3 separate regions of the Homo sapiens genome follow, and all the other regions are linked to region 3. Evidence: promoter capture Hi-C in 16 types of primary human blood cells and fetal thymus (Javierre and others, 2016). All regions are on one chromosome and are shown on one strand. The core of a region is centred on a gene start or on the middle of the fragment in contact, and the rest is flanking DNA. Distances in the headings are between cores, read along the strand shown.

Region 1 (2,862 bases), core at 55-2,554, 490 kb after region 3:
CCTCCTCATTCATTCATCCAGTGGATAATTATTGAGCACTTACTATTGGCCAGGTGCTGTTCCAGGCACAAGGGTGCCATGGAAAGCATGATAAAATTGTCTTGTGAAGCTTACATTGGTCAATGGAGACAGACAAACACCCAAGATGTAAATAAATTTAAAAGGTTCAGATAGTTATAAATGCTATGAAGAAAATAAAATAAAGTAATATACGGAGCAACAAGAGGAAAGGAGAAGAAACATCAAGTGCCAAGATCCCAGAGTAGGAAAAGACTTCAAGAATGGAAGGGGTATCAGGGACAGCGGGGAGGGGGAAGGGACAGATCACACAGGCCTTATATGCCATGGGGAGGAGTTTGATTTTATTTTTTGTGCAGCAGGGGAGCAACATGATCACTTCATGAGAAGGACCATCCTGGCTGTTGTGGAAAATGGATGGTTGTGACCAAGAGTGAGAACAGGGAGACCAGTTGGGAGGCCATTATAGTCACCCAGGCCTCGGCTGTGGTGGCTTGGAAGGTGCCCCCTTGGATGGGGGCAACAAAGAGGGTGAGAAATAGATTTGAGGTAGATTTATTTTATTTTATTTTTTTGAGATGGAGTCTCACTCTATTGCTCAAGCTGGAGTACAGTGGCGCGATCTCTGCTCACTGCAACCTCTGCCTCCTGGGTTCAAGCCATTCTCCTTTCTCAGCCTCCTGAGTAGCTGGGATTACAGGCGGCGCCACCACACTGGCTAATTTTTGTATTTTTTTTTTTTTTGAGACGGAGTCTCACTCTGTCGCCCAGGCTGGAGTGCAGTGGCGCGATCTCTGCTCACTGCAAGCTCCGCCTCCTAGGTTCATGCCATTCTCCTGCCTCAGCCTCCTGAGTAGCTGGGACTACAGGCACCTGCCACCATGCCCGGCTAATTTTTTGTATTTTTTTTTTTTTTTAGTAAAGATGGGGTTTCACCATGTTAGCCAGGATGGTCTCGATCTCATGACCTTGTGATCCGCCTGCCTTGGCCTCCCAAAGTGCTGGGATTACAGGCGTGAGCCACTGTGCGGCCTAATTTTTGTATTTTTAGTAAAGACAGGGTTTTGCCATGTTGGTCAGGCTGGTCTTGAACTCCTGATCGCTGGTAATCCACCTGCCTTGGCTTCCCAAAGTGCTGGGATTACAGGCATGAGCCACCACGCCTGGCCTGAGGTAGATTTTAGAGGCAGACACAGTGGAGTAGAAAATGCTCTTGTCTGGGACCCAGAAGTCCTGGGATTAAATCCTGAGTTCACCACTCATCAGATGTGGGAGCTTATACAGATGGCCTAATGCTTCAGTCCCCTCATGTATAAAATAAAGATACCGGCACCTACCTCCCAGTTTCTCAAGAAGGGGAGCTGAGGAAGGCAGATGTGCCCAGCATGGTGCCTGTGAAACAGGGCCTCCGCCAAGTTGCTTAGCGAGAATGAGTGTGGGTTTGAGTGTACTCCAGAGAGGTAGCTAGGCACTCCAGGCATTTCCTGGAACTCACTTGTCCTCTGTTAAAAAGGTGGAAAGGAAAGATTGTCACCCAGGCTATTGGGAGTGGGCGCATCTTCCAGGTAACTCAAAGTCAACTCTGAGTAAACAGGTAAGGGTGTATTTGGAAGCCACTCATTGCCTTTTAAATTGGGACATGGGTTTTAGGTGAGGGTTGGGAAATGCCTAGGGCTGGCAGGAGAGAATGGCCTGAGGGGCTCATGGCGGCTGGGCCAGGCAGGAGGGCTTGAACCTGGGGGCGGGCCTGTTGCATCCAGAGGGGCAGCTGGTAGAGGTGGCTCTGGAAATACGGGCTCTGGCAGATGATGGAAGGAAGACTGGGGAACAGTTTGATGGACTGATAGGTTTCCAGAGACTCTCAGCCAGCCTGGATAGTGACCTTTTGCAGGTGGAGCTGGTCAGTTTTGAGGCCTTTCCGTGGAAGTTCTGAAAGCAGAGGTCCCGCCCCTGGAAATCCCCCAGCCTACGCCGGCTTGTTGTTGTCCTGCAGCCCTGTGGGAGCTGCCTGACCCTGGGGCAGGGTGCACGGACTTAGATTAAGGCCAGAACCAAAGGTCAGCTTAACTGGAGTAGTATCCATGGGCTATGCCCCTTTCTTTTTAGCTCTCTGAAGTGTGGATGCTGCAGCATCAGGTTTCTGAAGGGCAGGAAAGGGGAGCTGACGTCAGCAGAGCACCTATGGAGCACCTGGCACTGTGCCAAGCAGCCTAGACTCCTCATGACACATGGGTAAAGCAAACATTATTATCTCCATTTTTTTTTTTAATAGTAGGAAACTGAGGCTCCAAGGGTTGGAAGTAGCTTTTCCCATGTCACGTGACTGGTACTGGGAACTCGAGTCTGCCCTGCTTCACAGCTCTTGTTCCTGCACAAGTGTCTCCGGAGAGGCTGGGGTACATCAGAACCTCCAGAGGAGGGGACTTGGGAGCTTGATGTTTAAAAAAGCAACACAGGCATGTGCAATGGAGAACTGAATTGGAAGCTTCTGCCTGTGGCTTTTTTTTTTTTTTTTTTTTTTTTGAGATGGAGTCTTGTTCTGTCGCCTAGGCTGGAGTGCAGTGGTGGAATCTTGGCTCACTGCAACCTCTGCCTCCCAGGATCAAGCAATTCTCCTTCCTTAGCCTCCTGCGTAGCTGGGATTACAGGCATGTGCCACCACACTCAGCTAATTTTTTTGTATTTTTAGTAGAGACGGGGTTTTACCATGTTGGCCAGGCTGGTCTCAAACTCCTGAACTTATGTGATTTGCCTGCCTTGGCCACCCAAAGTGCTGGGATTACAGGCATGAGCCACCGCGCCTGGCCTGCCTGTGGCTTTATTGAAGGCCTTAGTGGGGACATT
Region 2 (2,820 bases), core at 274-2,773, 260 kb after region 3:
TCTACCATTAGGCTCCTTAGGCAAGCTGCTTAACTTCCGTCAGAAGCAAAGGTGTGGGAGAACACCATTCACCTCAGTAGTAACTTATAAAAACCGTTTAAAGAAGGAAAATGGGCCCCAGCCCCTAGGATCCCTGACTTCCTGATATTCTAAACATGAGAGTTCTGTGACTTTAACTGAGCTCTTTACCAGAAGTAACGTGTTGATGTATATTATCTTTCCACCATGCTTTGACCAAAGTACATTCACAGTAACTAGAGAAAGCAGATCATCCATTTCTGGATAGGTGAACTACGGCAAGGTAAGAACAGAAAAAAGTAAAGTAGTATTGAGTCATGCAGGTATCAGATTAACAGACATTCATTGAAGATAAGTGAAATAACTTTGGAGATAGCAGAGAAGAGCAAGAAGATGTTGGACGTTGGCAGTAAGCCGCAGCAAGGCAGTTAGGAAAGTACGTGAGCCTGATGACGCGAAGGTGATGCCTCCATCTGTCCGCTTAGTGGTTATTAAATTGCTGGGAAAGACCTGCCTTTATTTTCCTATCATCTTTTCCCCATTACTTTGCATTATTCAGGAAATAATTATTTATTCCCAAATGCAGTTTTCTAAGCAGTGACCACAAAAATTTCTTATTCTAAGGAAAATAATTAAGAAAATAACCCTATCTGTGGCATTGTTTTAAAATGTGGGATACAAATCTGGTAAGCAGATTTCAGGTCATTATTGTTTTCTTTTAATGGTTTACATGAAATTTTCCTCTCAAAAAACAAGTACCTCTTACTGTATAACATTTGAGTTTTTAAAATTGAGATAGCTTCTGAGAGAAAAAAAGAAAGTTGAATTTGTAGCTCTCTCAACTACAAAATCACCACACTTTTCTCAAATCTAATAGGAATTCAGTGTCATTACAGATACGGTCTCTAGTGACCAGGTGAAGACAATTGAAGCTTTGGTAGAACTTCTGCAAAAGTTAGGTAAAGAAGAATAAATCCAATTTATCAGCTTTGTTCATATTCTTTTTCTGAGTGATCTAAATTTTTCTTGCTTGTGATCATTAGCTAAGACAAGGAGTGTTAAAGGTTTTCTAAATGCAAACACATACGTTTCTGCATTTCAGAAGTCAGTCTTGATAGTAAATCCTACAAACTCTCAACTTTCTGCATTGTATTTTAAGTCTATACAATGTTAGAGCACATGGTAATGTGGGACAGAGTTGATTATATGATAGCATGAGAAATTTGCACTGGTTGGTGTTACAAACCAATGATCTAACCAGCATACTCTCCAAATATGAAAAAGTAAAAACATCTCATTAGGTTTGGAAGAGCCTAAGGTAGTCCATACAGGAAGTTTGCCTGAGAACAGAGAGGAGCCTGTTGATTGGCATGGCTCATGATGCCTTTCTTGTATGAATTATCAAAACTGATACTGAGTTGCCCCTAGAAAACAGCCTTCCAGAATATGTTTGCTTATTTATGGTGGAAGAGGAAGTGAGAACAAGATGAGAGTTTCCCTTAAAGTGAGGAGAATCATTATACAACTTTGCAACTGAAGTATGTTTCCTTGTAGCAAACCTTTGGTTTATTTTATCGTCAAATCAAAGCCACCCTCAGTTTTTTGTATGGTGCCATCAACCTAAGGAGGACAATCAAATAACCTATTGTTTGCCTTGGATTCAGTATATCTACTAAGTACACAGTCTCGTATACCTTCAAACCAGTTACTTGACTAAACTTCCACCATATTACCTTAGTTCTTCCTATGCCCTTTCCTCTGTGCCACCACAAATCAGAGGGAAAGACTGCAGTACTTCTAGAAAGTTGTGGACTTCTAAGAAAGAGCCAGGCTTCCATCTCACTATCCCTTGATCATTATCTCTGAAGTCCCTACCTGCACTTCCCTGATTGCCCTGTAGCAACACCAGCATGGTGGGAATTGGAGGGAAAGATTGTGGAAAATCCCTAAAGGGTCATTGTTCATGACGTTATTTTGAATTGTAAAATTGTGAGCCACTCACATTTCAATTACAAAAAGAACAGAACTCTTAATCACGTTGTGAAGATTAATTTCTTGCCATTTTCTGGATTAGCACAGAAGCTTGTATCAATGAAGAGTATTTAGGAGGGGAATAGGGGGAAAATTGTATTTTTCTGTTCAAACTCTCTCCTTCTATTTGTGTTTCCTTCACCCCTCTCCCTCCACCACACTGTGTTGGTCAAATGATACTATTCTATGAAACCCTGAGCTATAGTTGTCAAAAGTAACTATGGATTGTGATTAGTCCTCTGTGGGTGCTTCCTTCCCTCTTTTTTCTCCCTCACTCTCTTTCTCAGTCTCCACTCTGGTAAATGGAAAAGGTGATGTCGAAGAATTGATGCTTGCTTGGACTCATGTTGTATCTGTGACTATGCTATTAGCTGTCTCCTTTTTCCTTCCTATATGGGTAGAATTCTTATGACTTATGAAGTTCCCTTCTTGATAAGTAGGTTAAATGCACAATGTGGTACTGTTTTATAGTTTCTAGATGGTTGTATAAAGCAAAAAGTTAATGTGGTTATGTGTTTTTAAAGAAAATAAGTGATTGGTCACTAAACTCTGTCCTTTTTTCATTATTACAATTTCTCTCTGTTTTCCAACAGTTTGCTGACTCCTTTGTCACTGGTGAATGGTTTGTGTGACTGTTTTTCTCTCTTGGTTTCTTGAATTCCTGAACATAGTTCCCCTTAGGACTAATTTTCATATGGGGTTAGGGCAAACAGACTACAGTGGTGAAATTTTTAAACTATCCTACTAAGTTAAAAGAAGTTTAAATGGCTT
Region 3 (2,726 bases), core at 170-2,669:
ACTCATAGTCTATGCCTATTTTCCATCTTGTGTCATCCCTCTCCTGGGGAAATGATTGCAGAATCCCTATTGGCATGAATTAAGGGGAAGAGAAAGGGGAAAAAAGTACATGGAGAAAAAAAGACAACAGCAGAGAATGATATCTCAGAGCACTGCTCCAGGCATAGCAGTTCCCTAGTAAATCTTGAAATCTCATCAAAATTGTGAGGGTTAGGCTGAGCAAGGTGGCTCATGCCTGTAATTCCAGCACTTTAGGAGGCCTAGGTGGGAGGACTGTTTTAGCTCAGGAGCTCAAGACCAGCCTGGGCAACATAGCAAGACCCACATCTCTCCCAAAAATAAACAAAAAAATTAGTTTGGCATAATGGCATGTGCCTGTAGTCCCAGCTACTCAGGGGGCTGAGGTGGGAGGATGGCTCACAAACCTATGTGAGGTAAGGCTGCAGTGAACCATGATGGTGTGACTGCACTCCAGCCTGGGCAACAAAGCGAGACCAAAAAAAAAAATGTTAGAATCAAGGGACAAAGTACATGTAAGAGGTTTAGAATAGCACTTGGTACAGGAACAGTGAGTGCTCAATAAATTATTATTAGGTCTCCTCCACCCAGGGTAGGACCTGGGTTTCTGTCCTGAATTGGGACTTCCAAGACAATCACTCCCACACTCAATGTAGTACAGAGCTCTGTGAGTGATCTCTGCCCATGTTCCCCAGGGACACTTCAGCCTGGGTGCTGGGCCTGTTTCCGGTTTTACTGGGGTGGGCTTAGAGCTGTACTTCTACGGGGTTCTCTTTCCTCTCAACGTTGGTTTCCCTCCCAACCCTCACCCCCAACCCCAGGAAGCTCAGTTTACAAGTGCGGTCGGTACCCTCATTTGGTGTTTTTATTGGCTTTTCTGATAGCCCCTGGACTAGACAATTACATTGAAATTCAGAAGCAGCATGCACTTTTTGGCATTGATGTCTTTAATTAAATTCAATAAGCACTTATTGAGCACCTAGAGTGTGTAAAATACTGTTCCTTTAAATACATTTAGTCCTGAACTGTTTTAGCTTCTTAGTTTGGATTAGTGCTGATCCATTTCTTAAAGGTTTTATGAAGCATAAATATCAAAATGGAAAAATATTTGCACAGTTCTTTGTAAATATAAACGTCTTGTGTGGATTATTGTTGCTACAGTATTAATATTAACTGCAGTAACAACACTGCTGCTTCCCAGACAGGCGGTAGAAAGCAGCTGTAGGCCAACAGGAGCCAGACTGAAGAGATCCAGGGAGGTGCCTCCAGCACGTACGGCCCACAAGGGGCGGAGTCTTAAGAAGCGTACCCAAGCCCCACCCCTTACAGCACCCCCTTCGTCAGGGCGGTGTAGGCGGTTACCATGGCGATGACGTCCAGAGGGCGGGGAGGGGCGGGGCTATGGAGAGGAGGAGGAAGATGGCGGGCGGGCTGCTCTGAAGAGACCTCGGCGGCGGCGGAGGAGGAGAGAAGCGCAGCGCCGCGCCGCGCCGGGGCCCATGTGGGGAGGAGTCGGAGTCGCTGTTGCCGCCGCCGCCTGTAGCTGCTGGACCCGAGTGGGAGTGAGGGGGAAACGGCAGGATGAAGTTCGCCGAGCACCTCTCCGCGCACATCACTCCCGAGTGGAGGAAGCAATACATCCAGTATGAGGTACCGGCACGGCTGGGGTGTGGGAGGACTCGGAGGGGCCACCATCTCGCCAGTCCTGACGTCCACCGCCGCCTTCCGCTTCAGCTGGCTCCCTGTGCCCGGGCAGACTTTGACCCGCTGCCGCGGGGAGCCACTGCGGCATCCCCGCCGCGGCCGGCCGCCTCCCGGCTCCGCTGTCCTTCCCCTCCCCCGCAGCCCCGCTGCCGCCGGGGTAACGGATATGCAGGCGGAGGGCCGGGAGGAAAGGCGCTGCCCGGGCCGGGGCCGGGGCCGGGGAACGGTGGGAGGGTGAGCTGCAGGTGGGGGAGTCACGGTGCGAGGGCAGCCCCGGGTCGCGGCTGTTCCGCGCTAATCCCCTTCTCCCCACTCGCCCTGACCTCTCGTCCCCACCCTGGGCGAGCGCCCCCTCGCCAAGGTTAGGTCTTGTTTCTCTCTCTACACCTCTCACCAAGGAATCCTTGTCTTCCAAGAGAAGCCCCTCCAGTGATTTCCTTCATTCCAAAGAGCCCTTCGGCTTTTTCCCACTTGCCCACTGTTGACAAAGGCTTTGTAACGGGGTTGAAACTTGACTTAAGTGTGTATCACATATGTAGTGGTTATAGTTTTTGTAAACACGTTGTAATCAACTATTCTGCTTTGATAATAAGACTCTTTTTACTGATTGCATGAAGTCTACAGAGTAATAACATCTTTGTTTTTGCCTCTTGTTTTGGAATGGAGGGAAGAGAAAGGAGAGAAGAGAATTATTAACATTTTTTTATTTTCTGCTAAGTTTTTGCTAGCTGGGGAGAAAATTAGTATATTGTAAACAATATACCTTACCTGTGTATTACAGAAATCATGCTCCCCATTCCCTCCCAATTTCTGTGCTAACACTGCTGGAAGGTATTTAATAGATAATAAGGAACCTTACATTAATAAAGGGAAAAATAAAGATAATGAACCCATTTATATGTTCAGAAGACAAGATACCTAAGAGGCTTTAAGCATTGCAATAGGTTATTCTCAGTAGCTGGCAATTCAGCTCCTGGATAGAGAAAGACAGACTTATCTGTAAC

The links. The method cuts DNA at HindIII sites, captures the fragments that hold promoters and counts their contacts. A CHiCAGO score of 5 or more calls a contact.
Region 1: a contact is called between a fragment that was not itself captured here and the fragment with the promoter of XPR1 in region 3, in 2 of 17 cell types (erythroblasts and neutrophils). The highest score is 6.9, in erythroblasts.
Region 2: a fragment that was not itself captured here is called in contact with the fragment with the promoter of XPR1 in region 3 in 1 of 17 cell types (erythroblasts); the score reaches 6.6 in erythroblasts.

Annotation. Positions count from the first base shown.
Region 1 is chr1:181,125,072-181,127,933 of GRCh38, forward strand. No RefSeq gene overlaps it. Among named protein-coding and RNA genes, the nearest start is that of IER5, 38 kb to the left of the region's middle. The HindIII fragment of the contact is 2,394 bases long and covers 108-2,501 here.
Region 2 is chr1:180,887,611-180,890,430 of GRCh38, forward strand. XPR1 (xenotropic and polytropic retrovirus receptor 1) reads left to right here. Exons shown (of 15, transcript NM_004736.4): 15 at 1-2,669. Among named protein-coding and RNA genes, the nearest start is that of LINC02816, 18 kb to the right of the region's middle. The HindIII fragment of the contact is 1,150 bases long and covers 949-2,098 here.
Region 3 is chr1:180,630,603-180,633,328 of GRCh38, forward strand. XPR1 (xenotropic and polytropic retrovirus receptor 1) reads left to right here and starts at 1,420. Exons shown (of 15, transcript NM_004736.4): 1 at 1,420-1,668. The coding sequence starts at 1,600. RefSeq lists enhancers at 1,284-1,784, 1,785-2,285 and a silencer at 1,780-2,159. The HindIII fragment of the contact is 29,339 bases long and covers 1-2,726 here.